Regions from separate parts of the Homo sapiens genome. Here regions 2, 3 and 4 are each linked to region 1. Evidence: promoter capture Hi-C in 16 types of primary human blood cells and fetal thymus (Javierre and others, 2016). All regions are on one chromosome and are shown on one strand. Each heading gives the region's core, a stretch centred on a gene start or on the middle of the fragment in contact. The rest is flanking DNA. Distances are from core to core; before and after follow the strand shown.

The links. Contacts are between HindIII fragments. The CHiCAGO score rates a contact against its expected background, and 5 or more counts as called.
Region 2: a fragment that was not itself captured here is called in contact with the fragment with the promoter of TAMM41 in region 1 in 1 of 17 cell types (total CD4 T cells); the score reaches 5.3 in total CD4 T cells.
Region 3: a contact is called between the fragment with the promoter of TSEN2 here and the fragment with the promoter of TAMM41 in region 1, in 2 of 17 cell types (naive CD8 T cells and naive CD4 T cells). The highest score is 8.0, in naive CD8 T cells.
Region 4: a contact is called between a fragment that was not itself captured here and the fragment with the promoter of TAMM41 in region 1, in 1 of 17 cell types (total CD4 T cells). The highest score is 5.4, in total CD4 T cells.

The regions. Positions count from the first base shown.
Region 1 is chr3:11,845,424-11,848,771 of GRCh38, reverse strand. TAMM41 (TAM41 mitochondrial translocator assembly and maintenance homolog) reads left to right here and starts at 1,887. Exons shown (of 8, transcript NM_001284401.2): 1 at 1,887-2,270. The coding sequence starts at 2,136. The HindIII fragment of the contact is 19,949 bases long and covers 1-3,348 here.
Region 2 is chr3:12,463,164-12,466,484 of GRCh38, reverse strand. No RefSeq gene overlaps it. Among named protein-coding and RNA genes, the nearest start is that of TSEN2, 20 kb to the left of the region's middle. The HindIII fragment of the contact is 718 bases long and covers 1,098-1,815 here.
Region 3 is chr3:12,482,441-12,486,002 of GRCh38, reverse strand. It overlaps TSEN2 (tRNA splicing endonuclease subunit 2), which reads right to left and starts at 1,523. Exons shown (of 12, transcript NM_025265.4): 1 at 1,123-1,523. RefSeq lists an enhancer at 1,180-1,599. The HindIII fragment of the contact is 9,261 bases long and covers 345-3,562 here.
Region 4 is chr3:11,330,315-11,333,643 of GRCh38, reverse strand. ATG7 (autophagy related 7) reads right to left here. Exons shown (of 21, transcript NM_001349232.2): 10 at 2,216-2,304; 11 at 551-672. Among named protein-coding and RNA genes, the nearest start is that of ATG7, 60 kb to the right of the region's middle. The HindIII fragment of the contact is 2,514 bases long and covers 578-3,091 here.

The DNA of each region.
Region 1 (3,348 bases), core at 638-3,137:
GAACCTGCCTCATAGGATCTCTGGAGTGATGAAAAGAAACAAGTATAAAAAGCCTGGGTGCAGTGGCTCACGCCTGTAATTCCAGCACTTTGGGAGGCTGAGGTGGGCAAATCACTAGAGGTCAGGATTTCGAGACCAGCCTGGCCAACACAGTGAAACCCCATCTCTACTAAAAATACAACAATTAGCCAGGCATGCTTGCTTGAACCCAGGAGGCAGAGGTCACAGTGAGCTGAGATCGTGCCACTGCACTCCAGCCTGGGCAACAGAGCAAGACTCGGTCTCAAAAAAAAAACAAAAACAGAAAAGCCCCAAAGAAGTCTAAAAAGTGCCTGGGCATACTAAGTGCTTAATAATGACACCTATTATTAGTATTATTGTCACCGAGTCCTTTCAATTCTTTCTTGGTTGAATTTTCCCATCTATCTTCTACCTGATAAACTCCTACCCAGCTTCCAGGCCTGGCTCAAAATGCCATCATTGTGAAACCTCTTCTGGTCCCTTTCCCCAACACCCAGAACTGACTGACGTTCCCATTGGAGGGACATTACATTCCGGCACTGTGCTGGGTACCTGGCTGCATTACCCAAATTCTACTCTGATTTGCAGTTCTGTCTCCTCTCCTCTACAGACCCCTAGCTCCTGCAGGGCAGCAGGCAGCTCAGATCTCTTCATCTCAGTGCAGGCCCAGAGTGTGAGTGCAAGTAATCATTTTTCCAATTGATTTAATCCCATCCCTGCTCCTAAGACCTTGGCCTAGCCGTTTCCAGTTCATGGGGGAACTATGATAACAACTGTCTAATCAGTCCCCCACAATTCAGGCTAACATGTGAATTACATAAGTCCTTGCTCAAAACCCTTCAAGGACAGAGCAGAATTTCCGAAAAAATCCCAGAGTTGGAGCCAGACCTGGGTTTAGCTCTAGTTTTGCCACAGGCTGATGTGATCCTATCACCTGGCTTTACCTCTCTAAGCCTTAGCTTGGCCATCAGTAAAACCAAGGCCCTCCTGCCACAGGGCACTAGAGGGTGCTCAGTGAGAAGTGCATGTGAAAATGTGTCAACATTACCTGAATGTTAGCTATTACTATTTCTATTATTTTTGAGAGGTAGTGTATTTTGGGGAGGAAGGAGAGGGTAGTTGAAAAAGTTTCTGTCCTGGAAGTCAAACCACCTCCTGAATGGTAATCTTCAGCAAGTTTCTCCAGTTATACAAAGAGGAGAGCTGTAAGATTTTTCTACTCCTAGGGTCCTGTTTCCTCCAGAAACTGCATTTGAAGCACCCTTTGTGAGACCATTCCACAAGGCAAGGGGGCAAAAACTGTGATCCACCCTTGAAATTAAATGCAAGTATCAGAGAACGTCTGTGCACTCCCATATCCACCCTTGTATTTGAAAAGGGCTTTAGCGTGAAGAAGTCTCCGTCAAATCTTGACGGTGGTATTCTCTACATGGCGGGATTGGGCATCATTTTAATTTTGTGTTTTTCCAAATCTTCGAAATCTGCAATTTTGGAACTAGAGCGATGATGGGGGCACAATATTGTGAAGGCACTACATGCTACTACACTGTCCATTTCAGAACGGCTAGTTCCATATTATGTGAGTGTCGCCTCACTTAAAAACCTTCAATACGCTCCCGATTTTATAGTCATTCTTTAAACCGTAGTTTGAAGAGAGAAGTACAGAGGCTATCAAGGCTCAGGGCCCGCGGAGTCGGGTGACGCTCGCCTCCGCCGATTTGTCCAAGTCGCAACCTAGCCGCCAGCCTGTAGGGCACTCCTCCGACCACGAGGGGACAATGCAAAGCCTCGCGTTCCCCACACTAAGGCGAGCACCGCCTCTTGCGTCTTGGAAGCGCCTGTGCGTGCGTGGGGCGTAGCAAGGGACGGAAGCTCTGCCTGTGCGACCGCCGCCCACCCGAGCCTATCTGGGCTGCGTCTTCTCGCCGCTGCTCTTCGTGGCCCAACGCCCCAATCCTTGCGTGTGCTTGCAGTCCCACCCCACACTCAGCCTTGTGTCCCTCGATCCAGTCTCCGACTTCCATTTCCCACCCTAAACCGCCTACCCGGTGTCTGTTCCCCGCCCGGTTGTCCTCGCCCTGCTGCGCTGAGTGTCCCCTGTTAGCCTCGACCCCATGGCGCTGCAGACGCTGCAGAGCTCGTGGGTGACCTTCCGCAAGATCCTGTCTCACTTCCCCGAGGAGCTGAGTCTGGCTTTCGTCTACGGCTCCGGGGTGTACCGCCAGGCAGGGCCGAGTTCAGACCAGAAGGTGAGCCCGGGCAGCCCCACGACGGGGAACTGTCTGTTCTCACGAGTCCCGTTTTGCCCTCGATTCCTTCAGAGTCGGAGAGCTGCCTGTCCGCTCTGCACACTCCACGTGTCCACTAGCAGAGTGAACCATAGGCCTGCCTTCCTAGTATAACGACAGCGCGAGTTGAAGCGACGGTGTTGAAGGATACTTAGGAATCCACGTGGGTCTAGAGCAGGAGAAGCAGTTAGGCAGAAGGAAAAACTGCTGCAGGGGCAAATGGAAGAAAGGAAAAGAAATCGTTATCAGGTTCTTTCAGTGTTTTAGTCGGCTGGACATCGGAATTTTCTGGGGAGCTTTTAAGAAAATCCTAATGCTCGGCTTCCGCCGATGGAGATTCTGATTTAATTGGTTTGGGATGAGGCCTGGGCTTCAGGAATTTAAGAAACGTCCCAGGTGATTCTAATGCGCAGCCAAGTTTGTTGAGAGTCACCTCTATAAATGTAGGAGAAAATGCAAAATGATCTTCTGACTTCAGGAAGTTGGCGGACTGGTTGTAGGGCCAGGGCAGGTGCAGTGAAAGTAACTAACATCAAAAGTTAGTGCGTGACCAGTGTATTTACCCTCGCTCAGCACTTTTAACAACGGTCTGTTTGAGACTAGGCATTGTTACTTTTCAGAGTTGGCTCAGCACAGCCTCAGTAAGGGTACAGTTTTCCTTGTAATTTGCAGAATTCAGTGTGCAGGTTTTAATGGGGCCCCCTGCGTCTGGATACCTGACTGTAGTCTGTCTTCTGATTAACATCCTGCCTGTTCACTTCCTGGTGAGGCCATCTATGCTGTTGCTTGGATTTCCTCTGTTTCCCACTTACACTACTATTTAATATTTTTCTTTAAATTGGCAGCATATGAGAAATTATAGGTTATTATAGGCTAGTTATTTTTCCCGAATTTACCTTAACATAATTACACATTTTTAAAAAACATGTTTATTCCATACCTGCCTCGCCACCAAATCTCAAGTGTCCCCAGTGGTCTGTAGAGTCACACTCTACAGAGCAGGCGTTAGCCTCCTGATGGCCACCTCTTCATTCTTCCA
Region 2 (3,321 bases), core at 207-2,706, 620 kb before region 1:
CTGCCTGCCTCGGCTTCCCAAAGTGCTGGGATTACAGCCATGAGCCACCACGCCCAGCCAATGGTCAGTCTTTTTCATTTTAGTCTTTCTGTTGGAGGTACAGTGGTGTCTAGCAGTTTTCATTTGCATTTCCTTGCTGCATTTCCCTGTCTACACTCTGAACCACTACACCCTGCTAGTGGGCCCTGCATTGGACACAGGACAAGGAATAGATAGTGCCAGCCCTGGAGGGACCCACAGTTGGGGTCCGGGAGCCTCAGGTGCAGAATTAGCCTCAGTTTCAAGGGCCGTCTCTGCTAATCCCTCAGGGTAAACAGAGAAGAGTAAGTGTAGGTAGTGGAAATTAAGGCAAAGCAAAGAGCATCTGGATGGCTGCAAGGGGAAGCTGGGCAGGGCCAGAGCAGGGAGCTTACTTAGCAGTTTGGAGGTTGGCTGCCTTTGTTTTTTCAGCACGTTGGAATCTCCTGGCTACTAGTCTTTTATTTCCTTTAATTAGCCTCCCCTACTTATGGCGACAGGTCAAGATCTCTAGGAAGTGTTCCAGACGACTCTGCCTGACAGACAGATGTCCCAGAGATCCCTATGTTCACTCCTTAGAGTTAAAATGAATCCTGTTTCCCATCCCTAGACCTGACTTAGGGCAAAATAGTTTTACTTTTGGTGCTTTGACTTTTCATTCCTTGCTTTCCCTCTAACGCTAAGAAAGTATATTATTTACAAAATATCTCTATCGCCTAGAAAATATCTCCCTGGGAAGAATTAAACAGTTACCCATTAAAAACTTTAAAAAATGCAGGCATGCATCAGCTGGCGTTAGTGCACCAGTCACTTTTAGAGTCTATTTGGTAGAAAAACACGTTACTATGGCGAAACTCCGTCTACAAAAAAACACAAAAATTAGCCGGGCGTGGTGGCGTGAGCCTGTAGTTCCAGCTACTCGGGAGGATGAAGTGGGAGGATCACTTGAGCCCTGGGGGGTTGAGGCTACAGTGAGCCGTGATGGTGCCACTGCAGTCCAGCCTGGGCGACAGAACAAAACCTTGTCTCAAAAAAAAAAAAAAAAAAGAAAGAAAGGAAAAAAACAAGTTATTGAAGCTTGAAGGCAAAGTCGGCTCCCTTGAAGGCACTTGGTTGTAAATGCGGGCACCATCAGAAATTCCTTTAACAGCAACTTACATAGTCACCACTTTGGAGGGGGTAATTTCCTAATGTGGTGAGGACGTTTTAAATGCGGGCACCATCAGAGATTCCTTCAACAGCAAAAACTCACACAGGCATCATTTTGAGGACAGCGATTTCTTAAACGTGCTGAGGATGTTTTAAATGCTTATAGTAAAATACTCAGAAATGGACTGAAGGCAAACACCAGAGACAGAGAAATCACAGAGGCCAGTGTCTTCCAGTTTCTATGGCTCTTTGACAGGCATGATCTGGTCTAATCTTGGAAGGTTAGTTACTTTCCCACTTTACAGATAAGCAGGCAGCGGCCAAGGGAGCTCTACAGATGTAGGAGAGACACCAAGACATGGGCTCCCTGCCTGCAGCAATTTCCCCAGCTCTGCATGCCTTGCCTGGGTTTTGAAGGAGATTGTGGCTGCCAAAGAATGTTTGGTACTAAAGAAGATTTTAAAGAAAAAATGGAAGAGATTTTGTCATTGCCCATCCTGCAGGTAAAGACAAGTCAGAAGAGGTCAGCCAGTGCTTGGTGCACAGACACACCCTCCTGCCCTTTCTCCAGGCCAGGAAGCTGAGATGCCCCGGGCTGAGCAGTGGGGACTTCTGAGAAAGCAGGCACAATTCCTAGCCTATCAAGCTTGTGGTCCAGAGCAGGAGGCAGATATAGAAAGAAGTAAACAGGCCGGGCCCCGTGGCTCACGCCTGTAATCCCAACACTTTGGGATGCCAAGGCAGGTGGATCACTTGAACCCAGGAATTTGAGACCAGCCTGGGTAACATGATAAAACTCCATCTCTACTACAAATACAAAAAGTTAGCTGTTATGACAGAGAGGTAGACAGGGCACTATGAAGCCCATAGGAGAAAGCAACCCTTTGGAGGATGGTTTAGGGTTTTCTTTACAGAAAAAGGGACATTTGAGTTGGGCCTTGAAGGATGAATAGAAGTACACTGGAAGACAACAGAAGGAACAATCTACAAGTCAGAAGAGCATGTGTGAGGCACCAAAATGTAAAACCATGGCAGGTACAGGAAGATGTGGGTCCTTGAATGATCTGGAGCATGGTGTGGAAGACAGAAATAGTGGGAGGAAACTTGGTGAACTCAGTAGAGGCCAAACCCCAAGGAACCTTAAGGGCCAAGCTAAGGAGTTTGGGCCCAACCCATTGAAGCATTTGGAGCAGGGGAGTGACCTGATCAGAGTATGTTCTTGAGAAAATATCTTGGCCACCACAAGCAGAATGGATAGAGACAGAAAAGCTGGGTACAATTATGTGAGGCCCTTAGTCAGTGCCAGGCATGGCCCATGGACCTGTGATGTGCCAGCACTGTGCCAGGGACCTGGGATTGGAAGTTGGCTGGCAGCACTTCCAAAGGAAGCTAGAATCCACCTGTTGCACCACTGATGACCTCTTCCCAGTGCCACTCAGCTCAATCCCCAGCAAGCAGAAAGTAGACATTGACCTTACTCCCCTTTCAGGGCAGATTCCAGGATACCACATATCACTCTGATTCCAGGATGGGAAAATGGCCAGTGCTCAGCTGAGATTGCAGTGGCCACAGTAATCCAGGCACCACCTCCTTGATTCACAAATCTCTCACAACTCAGTGTCCTAAGTCCGGTTGACAACCCAGTTCCCCTTATAGCCACAAAATGCTTCGGGAGGTGGGCAGCCTAGAGCTGGTTAGACCCCTTGCTTTTTCAGAGGAGGAAATTGAGGTACAGAGAGGTGCCCAGGCTTGCCCAAGCTCTCAGGATTAAGAAATGGTGGATCTGGCAGGGCACGGTGGCTCATGCCTGTTATCCCAGCACTTTGGGAGGCCGAGGCAGGCGGATCACGGGGTCAGGAGTTTGAGACCATCCTGGCTAACACGGTGAAACCCTGTCTCTATTAAAAAATACAAAAAATTAGCCGGGCGTGGTGGTGGGCGCCTGTAGTCCCAGCAACTCGGGAGGCTGAGGCAGGAGAATGACGTGAACCCGGGAGGCGGAGCTTGCAGTGAGCGGAGATCGCGCTACTGCACTCCAGCCTGGGAGGCAGAGCGAGACTCCATCTCAAAAAAAAAAAAAAAAAAAAAGGAAACGGTGGATCTGTGGGTTCTCAAATCATCATTCCAGGTTGCTTCTCACGAAGGGTCAGAAAA
Region 3 (3,562 bases), core at 274-2,773, 640 kb before region 1:
CTTAGAATACCTAATACAATGTAAATACTAAATAATTGTTATATATATATATTTTTAAATTTCTTTTTCCAAATATTTTTGATGCAACATTGGTTGAATCCACAGATTCGGAACCTGATAGCGAGAGCTGACTGTACTATCCTCATTCCACAGATATGAAAGAAGAGCGGTGCCTGAGGTGCACAAAAACATATAGGAAAGACTGGGTCAGTTGTCAAGAGGTTTGGGATGCAAAGGTTGGTTTGGAATTGGAGTCACTGCAGGTTATTTAGAATGATGATTGAAAAATGCAGATTAAGAAAATTAAACCTGGGAGTGGTACATCACACAGTGGCCCTCAAGCTTACCTACCCTTAACTCCTCATGCCCAGGCCTCACCTGCAATCAATTACATCAGAATTTCCTGGGTGGACCCAGCTGATTTTAACATATAGCTAACCACTGGTAACAGCAAGGTCTATTCAAATTCACTTAATCCCAGTAGCCCCCGGAGGTAAAGACTATTTTTATTTCCATTGTACAGATGTGGAAAGTGACTCGGAGGGGCCGGGCGCACCCCTGAGAAATCTTTACTTCTTATTTCCCCAACCTGCGCAACCTGACTCCAGAGCTGCATATTCTTACTTTCTATTAAAAGCAGAGTCTGTTTCTTATTCTTCCCTCGAGCACACAGGCTAACACCTCTTAGGTGATGGTAAATGTCTATTAGAAAAACAAAAAAGGGAGAGGTGGCTCCATTTAATTTTCCAACCTTCCTGGACTAGGTGCCAAACAAACCTGGTTAAAAAACCTCCTACCCAGCAAATCTCACCTTCTCCCAACCAAAACACGCTTCAAGCTCCATCTGCGCACCTCCTGGGCTTAGGGAGGCAAGGATGAAAGGCACAAGGTAAACAATCCTGCCTCTGGGGAGCTTTCAAGTTAGAACCTGAGAATAAGCCATATAAACAGATGACCAGCCTTTGAAAGTTGTTGTCAGGATTAAATGCATAATTTTGCAGAAGGCGTTTCGTTCGGGGCCTACCACGTGGAAAGCGCTCACCAGACGACAGCTGCAAATAAAATAAACTGCGCACCCCAACAGCGTTAGGGGCCCCGCCAATTCCTAACTCCCTGTCTTACCCCTTTGCTTCTTTCCTTGACTACCCCCACACCCGACCGAACTCCACCAGAGGCTGCGGCTCCTCTCGGGCATTGTCAGCTGCACCTTGCGCCCCAGCCCCACCAGCCCTGAACAAGGCGCCGGCGTTTCCAAGAACCAAGGGCTGCAGGCGCACGAGGAAAGCGCGGAGGAGTCAGTGACCGGGCGCACTCGGAAGCCTGGCTCCCCGTCCCGGCACTGTCTCGGCCGGCTGTGCGACCCCAGCACAGTACCTAGGCCCTTTCCTCTCTCGCCCTGGAGGACTTTCGGAAGAGCGAGATTTCCTTTCGCTGCAAAACACCAAACTCGGAAAGGGCCGCGCTTTCCTCGCCCAGGGCCCTTACCTTTCTTGGCCCCACGCGCTCGCCGTTACCCCGGCAACGCCGGCCGTGGGGCGGACACCGCTGCCGTCAAGCAGTGCGGCCGCAAAGCCAGCCGAGTGCGCAGCCGCAGAGCTCCCGTCGGGACTTGGCGGAGTGCGCCTGCGCACGGCCGGCTGGCGGGTGTTCTGTGCGCCAGCTCTGCCACTGCGGAGTATGAGGCGGAGGCTGCGTGCGCGCTTTGCTGCTCTCTGCAGGATTGTACGGAAGCCAGAACGATCCTGCAAGACGCATTTTACAGATGAGATGCAGTTACCCGTCAAATGTCACATAGTCACGTGGGAGGTGGGAGAGACCTAGAATCTTCGGCCCTCGGTGGATGGGATGTTTGAGGCGACCGACAGGACTTTATTAAATGGCCCTGAGGAAACTGATCTCATCTTTCTCAATGTAGAAAGAGGATCACAGCAGCGCACCTGTGTACGCTGCAGCATGCGGGGAACTTGCAAGGACGTTTTCTCTGGCAGACACCTGGCCAGAAGCCTCTGTGTGCCCAGACTGCCTGTGCAGTTAAGGGACAATAGGCGGCAGGTCCACCTGCTCTGCATCCCCATTTTCCCCCCTCACTGGCTGCGTGAGCTTGAATGACTGACAACCTTTCTGAGCTTGAGTTTACTGAAAAATGGGCCATCAGAATTACGGGAGATGAGCAAAACTGGAGTGCAATAGGAAGTGTAAGTTTCTCCTGACCTGGTTATTTTAAAGGAGCCCTGTGGGGAGTCCAATATATACTTTCCCAAATATGAATCACAGGAGTTCCACCACACAGACTAAGCAGGAGGCAAAGGAGGATGGCAAGGAAGTGTGGCAAATACTGCTGGAGAGATTCATGGTGCTAGATGTGATGATGGATGTTGAATTTTGGACTTCTGCCAATGTTCTTGCCTCCATTCCTTCACGCATGCTGTTGCCTCTATGTTCCCTCCCCTCTGTTAGCTGCAGTAATTCCTGGTCAGCCTTTAGGTCTCAGCTCAAATATCACCTCTTCCAGGAGACTTCTTGCCTTCCCAGACCTGCTTGGGTGACTTGCCTCTGTGCTCTGCAGTAGTCTGGCATGGCATGTGTTGTCCCTGTTTTTCTGGCCCTTTTTATTTTTTGAGACGGAGCCTGGCTCTGTCGCCCAGGCTGGAATGCAGTGGCACCATCTCAGCTCACTTACCTCACTGCAATCTCTGCCTCCCAGGTTCAGGTGATTCTCCTGCCTCAGCCTCCCGAGTAGCTCGGATTACAGGCGCCTGCCACCACGCCCGGCTGATTGTTATATTTTTAGTAGAAACGGGGTTTCACCACGTTGGCCAGGCTGGTCTCAAACTCCTGACCTCAAGCGATCCTCCCGCCTCGGCCTCCCAAAGTGCTGGGATTACAGGCTTGAGCCACTGCATCCTGCCTGGCCCTTTTTGAACTGCACTGTGGGCTTGCTCTTGGTAGAGTGAGATCATGTCGCAGCATTCAGTGGGTCCTCTGCTGCAAGGACCTTCACTGCTAGGCTAGGGAGTTCAGGTTTTAGATAAACCAAAATCAAAGAGCTTTGTGGTAAGAATGTTGCAAAAGAAAGGGAGAAAATTGGCAAGAGTCACAGGATATGGTAACAGGATGGATTGGGCAGGGGAGAGACAGCTGAAGAGAGGCTGTAATATCCGACCAGAACATGCCAATTTAAGAAATACTGGTTTTAGAATTAGAGGGCTTTAACAATGAAAGGGATTCAGAGGTTGTCCAGTTAAACTTCCTTATTTAACTGATAAGAAAACAGTTCCAGTGGCACTGTGAGTTGTCAGAGATAACCGAGCAGGTCTGAGGTGGGGCTGAGACTAGAGCCAGGTCTCTTAAATCCCATCCCAGCTCGTGGAAGGATTTGGGGTTTGCTGATAATGGGATCTCAAATTCCCCTCCCAAAAACATAAAAAAAGAAATTAAAAAAAGAAAAAAAATCTGTAAATTTTAAAAAAGAAAGAAATTTTCCCCAAGACTTTCTCAAGTGCATTTTAAACCCTTTGATATGGTTATTTTCAAACATACAACACAAAAGTAGAGAAAACAG
Region 4 (3,329 bases), core at 585-3,084, 520 kb after region 1:
ACACACACACACATATATCTCTCTATAGATAAAATGTCTCTCAGTCTAAGTTTCTCAATTTATAAAATGGGGGTAAAAGCTGATAACTGTCACATAAGGATCAAATGAAGATATTAAATGTGGAAGGAGAAATGGCATTTTTCCTGACTGGTTTACTATATGAAGAACAGGATCACATACAACTTTAAGTATATAACAAATAAATATTTAAGTGCATTAATACTTCATCCTTCCTTTAAGAATGGACAGGAATAAAGATTTTGTGTTAAAGAAAAGTAAAATTGAAAACGGGGGGAGCAGAGGGGAACAAATCCTGAAGACTGAAAAAACTGCCTAGAGAAAATTTCCTGGTCACAATCTTTGCCTTTGTTCCAGTCTGAATAGCAGAGCATGCCCTCTGTTCGAAGTAGGTGTCTGCATTGGCAAAGAGGTACAAGTTGTACTTTTCTCTTCCTTTCTTCTGCCATTGTGACGATATGAAAAGAAAGTAAACCTGGTTCCGTTTCTGATAAATGATAATTATATGCATTTTCAAAGACCGGCAAATTACCTGGGCTAAATGCCATTTCTGGAAGCTTCACTTCGAAGATGATGCTGTGGGCAACGTCTCTCGCCCCCTGCATGGTACGGTCACGGAAGCAAACAACTTCAACAGACTGGAAACTGCTACTCCTGTTGTCATGCCCGGATTTTTATTTATTTATTATTTTTTTTTAAAGGAAGGAAAAGAAAAAGCTCACATAAGAGCTTCAGCAAACCAGTTGGAGAGAATTCAATGCATTCTAATTATGCCTCTCTGATACCCACAGGAGATGGCCTTAACTCTTTTGAACATATTCATATATGGCTCCTCTGTCCAAGTGTTTAGAGGCTGAAAAATGAATTGGCTGTGATTTCTTTCTAGGTGATTTCTTTCTACAATCATATTGCACATAAATAATTCCGACAAGTAAATCTTTTAAATGCGGAAAAAATGCTCACAAGACATTTAGAAAAAATCCTCTAGGACGTGGGTTCTTTTGGTTCCCTCTGCTCTCCCCATCTGAACTTCCATATTAAGCAGCAGTACCTCAGTCAGTAGTTAGGAAGCCCATTTGCACTGTGTAGACTTACCACCTGGATAATTGTAGATTGTCTCCCTCAGAGAACAATCTATAATTTATCTATCTTCATATTTTTAAATAAACATTTTTATTTAAGTAAAGCAGACACATTACACAAATCCCAAGTATAAAGAAGGCTGTCTTATGCCTTCTCTCAGTCATTAACCACTGCCTTCAAAAGTAACAACTACTCTAAGTCCATACATTGGTTTTGCCTATTTTAACTTTACATAAATGGAATCATGGAGTATGTATTATTTTAGGTCCAACTTATTTCACTTAATATTATGTTTTTAAAATTCAGCCATGCTGATCTCTGTATTAATAGTTCACTCAGATTCATTGTATATGACATTTCATCATAAGGGATATACTTAAATTTATTATTCATTTCATTATTGAAGAACGTGTGAACTATTCCCAGCTTTTGGTTATTGAGAATAATGCTTCTGTAAACATTCTTGTATATGTGTTTTGCTTCTATCTATGTAGGTATTTCAGTGAGTAATATACTTGAGAGTAACATTGCTGAGCCATAGATATTTTTAATTTTGGTAGATACTGCCCAACATTTTTCCAGCAGTATTTGCTCCACATCTTCGACAACACTTGGTACAGACATTTTTATTAAATACTTTTGGTGGATATGTAGTAGCATCTCATTATGGTTTTAATTTTTATTTCCTTAATGACATGATGTTGGGCATCTTTTCAAATGTATATTGGCTTTTAAGATATCCTCTGTTTTAATTATTTTAGGGTTAAGAAAAATGGAGAATGACAGCAGTAGGAAAATCCTATCTGAAAGAAACCCAGACAGCTAGAAGGGAGGGCTACAGAATTTGTGTCAGGACCTCTGGCTACCAACTCTACCATACACTAAAACATCTTTAGCACAGAATGATCAGAGTATGCAGGTCCCTAACAGACCTGCTTAAGGTTCACTAGTATGGAAATTGGGTTATGACTGATTTATTGATTACCTGGTTTCCATGCCCAAAATGAAAAAATAATGCATTTAGGAAAACAGAGATACAAATAGAAACAGACACATTGTAAAACATATACTGGCAAAGGCAGACAGACAGACAAACACACACTCTTGTAAATACCATCTGTGGGCTGCTAGGACCAAAAAATTCCTCAAAGGCCATCCAGGGTACTGGGCTAAGTTACAGGGATCATATACACCAATTGTTATCTGTGAACAAAAAAGACTTTCTGAGTAAGTCGAGTATCATGTCAGCTTCACAATACAGACATTGCTCATACTTCCTCTTTGCTTTTTTATGCTTTCTGCAAAGCCTTAAAAATTAAACATCTGGTAAAGGGCTAAGGGGAGGAGAAGAAAGCCACAGGATCTCACACTGCACTACAGAACTTCTTGATAGCAGGGGCTATCAAATTCTTGTCTGCACCCCCTGTGCCTTGCATTGTGCCTGGCAGAAAGTAGGAGCTAAATACACGTAGAAGGAAAAAAGACTGGAAGGAAGATGGGGAATGAAGGAGGACAGTCAAGAGAGTTTGTAGAGAAAATCCTCTTGTAAACAAAGAAATATAATCTGTGAAAATTGCTCATTTTTATGCAATGAGAAAATCAAAGAAGGGCCACTACCAATGTAAGTGTACAGTCAGATCAAGTTAAACAGCCAGTTACTCTTGATTTTGCTAACATATATTTCCTCCCTCCCCTTTCCCATCCCACTCCAATCCCGATCTTCATCTGGAAAACTCTACTCAATTTAAAATACCGTTTCTTCAGTGAAGACTTCTGCTGGCAGAAGTAGTTGGCCTGTCCTTGCTGCTTTCACAGCTCTTTGAACCTTGTATATAACATTTTTCATTTTCTGTCTCCTTCCTTTCAAAGACAATGAGCACCCAGCACCCAGATACTGACTTCTAAATACCATTCTCCAAGAAAATAAATCGGGGCTCCTTGGACACATGGTTAATTCTAGGGCTCAGGCAGGGAAAATACAAGAGAAGCTTGGAGCATCTTATAATATCAGGAAAGAAGGAGGTACTCAAAAAACAAATGAATTGGGGCATGCCAAGGTGATACAGGCACCAACTGTAAGAGTTATCAATAGCCAAGGCTGGAACAATTTGTGCAACAATATAAATAATATGATGTTGAATTATAACCCAAAGTATAAAATAAGTATCTACGAGTCCACACTGATATAAATAAAGAATGGAATAAATGTGAAGGGACAAGTCTTCCTT